2 separate regions of the Homo sapiens genome follow, and region 2 is linked to region 1. The links are contacts of gene promoters, found by promoter capture Hi-C in human tissues and cell types (Jung and others, 2019). All regions are on one chromosome and are shown on one strand. Each heading gives the region's core, a stretch centred on a gene start or on the middle of the fragment in contact. The rest is flanking DNA. Distances are from core to core; before and after follow the strand shown.

Evidence for each region. Contacts are between HindIII fragments. The study calls those that stand out against the background at their distance.
Region 2: a contact is called between a fragment that was not itself captured here and the fragment with the promoter of ID4 in region 1, in 1 of the 25 tissues and cell types used here (aorta).

Annotation. Positions count from the first base shown.
Region 1 is chr6:19,833,935-19,838,665 of GRCh38, forward strand. ID4 (inhibitor of DNA binding 4) reads left to right here and starts at 3,436. Exons shown (of 3, transcript NM_001546.4): 1 at 3,436-4,261; 2 at 4,650-4,708. The coding sequence starts at 3,821. The coding sequence ends at 4,694. The HindIII fragment of the contact is 7,095 bases long and covers 1-4,731 here.
Region 2 is chr6:19,666,139-19,670,869 of GRCh38, forward strand. No RefSeq gene overlaps it. Among named protein-coding and RNA genes, the nearest start is that of LNC-LBCS, 140 kb to the right of the region's middle. The HindIII fragment of the contact is 4,246 bases long and covers 370-4,615 here.

The sequences.
Region 1 (4,731 bases), core at 2,186-4,685:
GCCCAGCCATGTTCAACGTACAACGTCCTCTTCCTACAAGCCTTTTCCAGGACCTAGCAAACTAAGGGGTTATCAGCATTTCCGGGACTAGTATCAGCAATCCAAGGGTAGCACAAGTAATTTTGTAACACTTAGTGCCTGATAAAGCAGCCTTGAGCTTGAATTGCCACATTGCCCAACTTACTCTTTGGGAGCAAGGGACAGTCCTGCTGCAGAGTACATAGTGGTTTCTTATGCCCTCAAAGAATGCATGTGCCTCTTTCTGTGACGACAAATCTACAGAGTGACCAAGGCATTGGAACATTCACGTTTATCTGTGTATGAGTACACTCACTGTTTCCCTGGAGGCTATGGAGAAACAAGTATCAAGTCCTAAAAAGGCACTGGGAATGAAGAGCACAATATGCTTCCATACCCTTGCTTCATGTAAACACAGGGTGACTATGACTTCTAAAGGCCTGGGTGTTGCAGTTCAGTGAGGGCCTGATTTAGTAGCTAGAATACATCTCAGGGAGGACAGCAGACCTCTTTGTCTGGAGGAAGGGTGTATCCATGACTCTGGTCATCACGGCTTTCTAGCAATTCTCCTATGAATGTTTCATTCTAGGTTCCTACTGAGGTATATTTTGGGAGTCTCGAGCATTTCCATGACAAAAGGATTTGGGTTAGCCCATTTTACTTTTACAAGTGCAAGTGAAACACTTTGATGTAAAAGAGTCACCAACAGACTAAGTTACCTTCTCTGCACAGTAGAAATAACATAGCTTGTAAGGTTTATCCAAAATCTGAGTGATAATTGGGTAAACTGTTTTGAATTATCAGTGCCAGGAATCTTCCATGATTGCAGCTTTGATGTCATGTAAGTGTCTATGTCTAAGAATACAAAAACATACATTGCATAGCCCCTAGTACTCTCTGGTTTCATGGACCAAAACGTGCAGGATTGTATTCCTTATTCCCATAGTATATGGTAGCACTTTAATTTTTTAATGTCTTCATGCCTTCCAACCTTCAAAACAAGGAGCACAGTAACTGCCTCTGCCTACTCTGCTAGCAGGATTTACGGATCACATCTTTCCTGGGTATTCTTGATCTTGTGGCTGAGGTACATTCCTTTGAAACCACCTCTTCCACCCCACCCCACACAGAGTAACTCAGTCTTTCTAACTTTAAGCCAGTCACACAGAGCATCTCCAACAAAACCTGAAACTTAGGCATTTGGCGCTTGTCACACCCAAGGCATGGCTTTCTGAGATTTAGCAAATTCCAAAAAGGTCGATATGATTCTTCCTTTGTGTTACGTATTCAAAACTTAAATTTTAATTTTAATCGTTAGGATATGTAAAATGTTTAAATGTAAGTGTGTCCTGGGCATATTAGCATAGTTTTATTTTGCCAAACAGAGGAAAGTCTTGGGTTTTGAATTTGGAAGCAAATTTTAAACTCTAGGAAAGAGAAAGATCAATGGAACAAAACATCTGTACATATATCCATTTATTATTATCGTCTGTGCTCATATGACTGGCTCCAAGATAATAGCTTACAACCAGTAGTGCTGGCTTCACCGACTTCCCATTTAAAATTACAACATTTTCTCTGTATTTGCATTAATTTAATGATGTATATGACTATGCCTGTCTTTAGAAGAAAGCCCTTCTGAGTTTCATAATTCTGATTTTCTCGATTAATGTGTATGTAGACCATCTACGTATGCACATAAATAAATGAGAATGGCACTTGTTTCCAAACAATTATTAGAAGCAGTAACATACAAGGATTAGGGGAGAGGAGGGTTATTGCATCTACCTGTGAAACCAGAATTAAATAGTTGCTCCTCATTTCATCAGGAGAAAGGAATGTGCTCTGGGGAATAGTGCGATAGTCATAAAGCACTGACATAGCTAAACAAAATATCTGCCTGGTGCAGGTATTTCAGTTCTGGGAATGGATGTAGAAAAAGTCCATATAGGGGTAGACAGGAAGAAATGAGGTCCATGTCTCTTTCTTTCAATTATCTATGAAAATGAAGACACCAATCCATGTCATGTACACGAATGAAGAAAATTCTTGGGTTAATTCATCTCCAAGCGTGTCTAAAGGTGGGAGGGTTTGTAGAGTGAAGGCACTCAAAATTCATTTCCCCATTGTCTGAGAATTTTTATGCACCTTTCTCATCTGAAGGGCTCAATTTTTTCTTGAAGGGTACACACAATGCTCCACCAAAGCTCATTGTGCAATTTTATTTTGAACCCTTGAAGGACAGCTTTTCTCTAAGAAATCTAACACAAAAACGCCCTTAATTAACAGGCTTTTTTTTGCAGGGTGGGGCCCAAGCGGGATCCCAGAGACTGGAAGTGTGAATTTTAATGCTTTGCTGTCAAAGGAGGCGACTCTGGACATTCTCATCACCTTATTTAAAGCGGGGTACGCTGACTAATACGTGAAGCTGTGCATTAATGGCCTAAATTAAGTTACAGGTATGAATTTTACATAAAACAGATTAATATTATATGTCATAATGGAATTTTAAATATTCCGTGTCCATGCATTTTTAATCTTTACGTGCTCTAATTGAATGCGCAAGGCAACTGCATTTCTTGAGCCCACTTTTGCATTTAGATGGGGTAAAAGAACCCCCCCCACGTTTTTGTTTTATTTATATTCCCTTCACCAAAAACCTGCATTCGATTCGGCATTCTTTTCCTTCTTTTTTTTTCTACTTTTGCTAAGCTTTAGCATTTTTTAAAAAGAAAACGGAAAGGCTACACATTCCATTCCATCATTATGGTTTCGGCAAATGTGAAAAGGCGAATAATGAAACGGAGGAGGGAAATATAGAACAGAATGAACGTGCCTTCTTGAACAGCGCGTCTTTCTTAAGGCACTGGAATCCCACGGATGGAGTGATGGGTGGCGGAGGGTCCCTGGGCGCCGTGCTATTAGGAGTGGCAGGGTATCCGCGAGCAGGGCCCAGGCGCTCCCTCAGCAGCCTAGTCGGGATAAGGGGGGCGGTGGAGAGTGAATTCCGGCCGCACATTCCCGCAGTTCTTCGCAGGAACTTCGCTCTCTCTTTTCCCCTCCCTTGGGCACACATCAGCCTGGCCCGACTCCCACTCAGCTCTCTTTTCTCAGAACCCCGACCCACAGCGTTGACGGAATGGAGTGCCCTTCCCATTGGCCCGAGCGTCATTCCCCGAGGTGGCACTGCCCGCCTGATTGGCTGGCCACTCCAGACCCCCCGCCCACTCCTCCACTCGGGTAGCCGGACTCCCCGCCCCCCAGCACCGCCCGGAGCCCCCGCCCTCGCCTCTCCCTCCGCGCCCCCGCCCGCGCGCCCAGCGGGCTCCGCTCGGCTCGCGCTGCGACCCGGCCCGCGCGCTGGTCCCGCCCCCGGGGCGCACGGCTCTATAAATACAGCTGCGCGGCGGGCCGGGCGAGAGCGTAGTGGAGGAGGCGCGGTTGTGAGTAGTACCGGGAGTGGGGTGATCCCGGGCTAGGGGAGCGCGGCGGCCGCGATCGGGCTTAGTCGGAGCTCCGAAGGGAGTGACTAGGACACCCGGGTGGGCTACTTTTCTTCCGGTGCTTTTGCTTTTTTTTTCCTTTGGGCTCGGGCTGAGTGTCGCCCACTGAGCAAAGATTCCCTCGTAAAACCCAGAGCGACCCTCCCGTCAATTGTTGGGCTCGGGAGTGTCGCGGTGCCCCGAGCGCGCCGGGCGCGGAGGCAAAGGGAGCGGAGCCGGCCGCGGACGGGGCCCGGAGCTTGCCTGCCTCCCTCGCTCGCCCCAGCGGGTTCGCTCGCGTAGAGCGCAGGGCGCGCGCGATGAAGGCGGTGAGCCCGGTGCGCCCCTCGGGCCGCAAGGCGCCGTCGGGCTGCGGCGGCGGGGAGCTGGCGCTGCGCTGCCTGGCCGAGCACGGCCACAGCCTGGGTGGCTCCGCAGCCGCGGCGGCGGCGGCGGCGGCAGCGCGCTGTAAGGCGGCCGAGGCGGCGGCCGACGAGCCGGCGCTGTGCCTGCAGTGCGATATGAACGACTGCTATAGCCGCCTGCGGAGGCTGGTGCCCACCATCCCGCCCAACAAGAAAGTCAGCAAAGTGGAGATCCTGCAGCACGTTATCGACTACATCCTGGACCTGCAGCTGGCGCTGGAGACGCACCCGGCCCTGCTGAGGCAGCCACCACCGCCCGCGCCGCCACACCACCCGGCCGGGACCTGTCCAGCCGCGCCGCCGCGGACCCCGCTCACTGCGCTCAACACCGACCCGGTGAGAGGCCGGGCGCCGGCCGTGGGCGGACGCCGCGGGGGATGGGAGGTTGGTGGCGTGGTGGCGGGACGCGGGCGCTCACCGTCCTCCGGGCAGGGGCGGGCCAGGAATGACAGCCCCCTCCCCCTGCTCCTCCGGGCTCCCCCGGGCCGCCAGCAGCCGGCCGGGCTCGGCGAGCGCGGGTCCGGGAGAACGCGCAGGGCGGGACTCGGGGCTGTGGGCGCCCTGGGCTGTCAAGTCCCGCCTGAGCCCGGAGGGGCCCCCCCGGCTACAGGCTGGGGTGGGGGCGTCGGCGCGCCAGCCTGATTTCCGAGGACAATCCAGGACCGTGTCGAGCGCGTTGTTTGCGCCTGCTAACCTTTCCCTTGGTGTTCGGTTGCTGTTCCAGGCCGGCGCGGTGAACAAGCAGGGCGACAGCATTCTGTGCCGCTGAGCCGCGCTGTCCAGGTGAGCGCGCATTTCCCGTCTCG
Region 2 (4,731 bases), core at 1,243-3,742, 170 kb before region 1:
TAAAGAGGAGAACATCAAAACACCTCCCTAATGGAGGCCAAGAGAACCAAGTTTCTATCATGTGAAAAAAAAAAATCTTAGATTGTAAAGGTGCTGTGGATTTCTGCTTGTTTTGTTTTATGTTTTTTAGATTTACCGTTTCTCAAAACAGGAGGATGTTGCAACTTCTGACCATCTACAGAAAATGTTTCTTTTCCTCATAAATGAATATGTCTGTAAAAAAATTTGCCTGCAGAAAAGTTATTTGCTTTGAAAGTGGCCAGAATAAACTCTAGGCAAAGCAGGGTCATTCGTTTATTTATAACCCACCACCAGTACCACCTATCCATAGCCACAGGAATCACTTTACCTGAGTGATTTACCAATTCTTCCTAATTTTTCTGGGGCTATCAGCATCTGGACAAATTCAATTTTTACAAAAGAATATACATATATATATATATATATATATATATATATATATATATATATATTTATTTATTTATTTTAGAGATGCGGGGCTCAGTCTTACTGTGTTGCCCAGGCTAGACTCCAACTCCTGAATTCAAGTGATCCTCCCCTCTCAGACTCCCGAGAAGCTGGGACTCAGCTACTGTGCCAGGCAAGAACAATTCTTTTTATAACATCTTCAGAAACATTAAAATTATAGACTAGAAAGACTATTTCAAATAGAGAAAGGCTCACTTTTCCTGCCTAATGTAATTCTTTAATGTTGCAATTCAATTTGCCCTTCACAGAAACACCATCCCACTGTAACAGATTATAGGGAGTGACCTTCTCAATCTCATCCAAGGTATGGATGGGTCCTTGTCTTCATATTTCAGGCATGCTGAATTTTAAATTAGGGAAAAGAAATTTTACCGAGAAAACTGGAGAAAAAAAACAAATACAAAAAGGCAGGAGCTAAGGAGTCATAGAGTACAGGTAATTTAATAATACAGAGTTGACCATGCCTACTAACTACATTAGTTATTATTTATTAAGTGCTTACAACCATGCTTAGCAGATAGCATGTGCTCAATGCATGTGAGCTGTTGTCTGTTATTCCAATGGCTTGGATGCACACTTGACCATGCAGAGTCCACAATCCTTCTTACTCCTCCCTTGAATGTACATGCTGCCAAAACTCTGCTTTGAAGCCCTCAAAATTTCCTCTCCCACTCCAATTTCTATGGAACTTTAATAGACAGAGAACAAGAGAGCTGAACTAAAATAGAAATCAGTCACTGTGACCTAACCAAGTTACTAAAAACATGCTAAGAGTCACCAAAGGCTGAGAAGTATCAACACATAAAAGCATGTACACTAGAAACAGAGCAAAATACTTAATTCCCCAGTCTTGAAAGTCAAACAGGCCGGGCATGGTGGCTCACGCCTGTAATCCCAGCACTCTGGGAGGCCAAGGCAGGCGGATCACGAGGTCAGGAGTTCAAGACCAGCCTGACCAATATGGCGAAACCCTGTCTCTACTAAAAATACAAAAATTAGCCGGTATGGTGGAACGTGGCAGTGATCCCAGCTACTCAGGAGGCTGAGGCAGGAGAATTCCTTGAACCCAGGAGGCAGAGGTTGCAGTGAGCCCAAGATCGCGCCACTGCACTGCAGCCTGGGCAACAGAGTGAGACTCCGTCTCAAAAAAAAAGAAAAGAAAAGAAAAGAAAGTCAAAGAGACCTGTTTCCCCACACGTATCTCTACATCTCTAGTTTATCTTGTATAAGCTTCCAAGACAGGGAAAACTAAGGCACAATACAGACATGAACTGGCCAATGAAAATAGAAAGAGAATAGAGAATGGAGATAGGGGAGGCAGTAGAATGCTAGGAAAGATGGGAGAAAGAAAGGGAAAAAGACAAATTGCTGAGAAAAAGGAATGAGGCAACAGATGAACAGCATGAGTTGAGACGAATTAGGTGTAATGTTCCCCCAAGATGAGTGTGAATGGCAACTGACGAGGACAGAGAGCTCTGCTCTTCACAGAGTCAGGGTGACAAGGTTCTGCCCATTCACTGAACTGTTGCTACACAGCTCTAGAAGGACAGCAAAGTCAAGGAGAGAGAACACGCACCAGCATGACTAGACAGCCAGGACCTAGTGGGTGATAATCATCACGATTTTTTAAACCACAACCACCTTCTGTCATTAACAGGATGTTGTGAGAACAAGGAAATTTTCTGTCAGATGCTGAAATCTCTGGAAAGAGGTACCATTTAAATGCTAACGTTTATTATCAATGGTGATGGTGGTGATCAAGATGATGATGGAATGATGATGACTTACATTCAGAATCTCCGTACCTAGAACCATCTGCCTCAATGATGCCCAAGCACCTTTCAAATTTCATTAACTCTTACCTGTGTTTTAATTAATCATCATTTTAATAACCCTGGAAAGCATTCTAGAGGCTGCTGATAAAATGAGAAGCAAAATTAAATGATTAAGAGTAACTTTCATCTGACCGTGGGAAAATCACAGGCACTTTTGATGGCCTCATTTTGCTAGCGAACAATGCCATTCATCTGGATACATCCTATCCATGACTAGGACTAACCTTACAAGTAGATAAAGGCAGCATTCCAGAATGGTATAATTTAAGAAGCTTTCCTTGCCCCAAAATATCTCCCTTGCCCAGACATAAAAATACCCAACAATCTGTTTTTAAAGGTCTGTTCCTCTGGATTTCTCAGCAATGAGGTCTCCATTTTTAAAATGCAAATGCTTCTGGATTTTATCAAGAAACTCAGCTATCTTCACATCCTATAAATAGCTGTGGTTGTTTTTAATCTGATGTTTTCAACCTCTCTGAGGAGGGATCCCTGGCTGCATGAAATCATTAGTCATCCTAAAAACTGGGGTGGCACCAGACAGAGTAACAAGCATTTGAAAAATTAAAATAAATAAAAGAGAACAGCAAGCCCCTAATACAAGTCATTCATTTGGAGATTTTTGCTTAAGACTGATTTACCCCAGGTTATTTTACACATCCAGAGCTAGAATATGCCAGATTGCAAGTTAAAAGAGGACGCAAAGTAAAACATCTTCTGTAGCTCTAATGAAAACCAGCATCCAGGGAGTCCCAGTTGTTGTGCCCAACTTTCTTCTGCTAATACTCAAAGCAAGGAGATGAATAGTGTCCCATCCCTTAGCCCCACATCCACCTCCTGCCCCATTATTCTGGCTTTCATTTTTGCAGCCACAGAACTAGAGGAAGGAAGTTCTGGAATTTCTGGCAGAGGGAGCAAGACATATATACTCCCTCCAGTCACTGGCACTCTCACTGCCAAAATTCCTCCTTTGTTTACCACATTGCTCCCCTGCAGACTCAGGGCTCACACCCCTCACAGAGGGCACAGAGAGGTGAGTATCTTTCTAAGGACCTACTGTACTTCCTTCCAGATGAAGGTGCCAGCAAGCTTTCAGAATTTCTTTTTTAATCTTTTTATGCATCATAGAAAGCAAAGAGAAACTTGTTTGAGCCTTGAATCCTGGAGGGGAAGTAGACTAGCCTTCCACATACCTGGATGCAGTTCAATACTTGATTAGAAGACAATTGCTTGTTAGTCAGCTGCACAGGCTGAGATAGGTCACCAGCCCACAACCTAAGCCCTTCACCTCAGACAGACCACCCAAGTTCACCCACAGGGGCAGAGCAGGCCTAGCACCTCAGGCACCCTGCCACTGACATATATGCACCCCAGGAAAAGGAAATTGTATGTGTGTTCTGCCCACTTTTCTTAAGCATCATGAAAATCTCCGTGTACTGCCACCAAGTCTTTTGTGAGTGTGTGTGTATTTGTGTGTATGTGTCTATGTTGATATCTAACTATATGTAGATACACACACAAGGACAGAAACAGGGATATTCCCAACAGCAATACTGCATTACCAAGAGCTCATTTTCATCTGGCTGGCCAGCACTACAAAGTGGCTGTGTATTCTCGTGTAACACTCCTTGTCACCTACACCAATGTATGTGCACTGCCTAGAGAAGCCAGACTGAATCATGGCAGGGAAGACATCATCTCGAGTATCTTTAAGCTCATTATCAGCAAAGTTTATGTTAGCAGGGTTAATAGATGCTCTTCTGAGTCTATTTCTCTTCTCCCTACACTACCTACATTCCTATAACTCACCACTCTCCCTAACCCCTGTAAAACTTTACTTGCCCCATTGTTTGTGAGTAACTCAGTCTAGTACTTGGGTTTTCATACGGTTTTCAAATGTGGTTCCATTGATGTTGAGATGCATGAGAATCCTCCCAGATCTTGCCTGCTTGTGTCATCCACATTTTATCCTCCATATTTCAGCTAAGAAAGTTTCAAGTAGGTCCATCCGCATTTTAACTTCTGACTTTGAAAAATCTTGATGGAACCAGGATGAATTTCAGCCTGATGCTACTTGCAGATCACTTGTCTCCTCTCCACAGTAAGTAAGGTTTACCCATGACAAAGGCTATCATCTAAGAAAGCCACTTTGTGAGAGCAGCAGAAGGGCCACAGGAAGTTGCTTACTCTAGCTTTGTTTCATATTCTACTGGATGGCAAAAGTGTGGATAACTCTTGGCAGCCACTACTGGTTGGATGGCATTTTGCTTAGACTCCCCAGTGACCCTGAAGGACGTGCATACTTCTATTTTCTGAATAAGAGTTTCTACAAATCCCCAGAGATAGCTTTTCAATGTACAAATGTCCCATCAGTCTGCTCCTAAGACCACTTAAAGTCAGTATCTGCTCT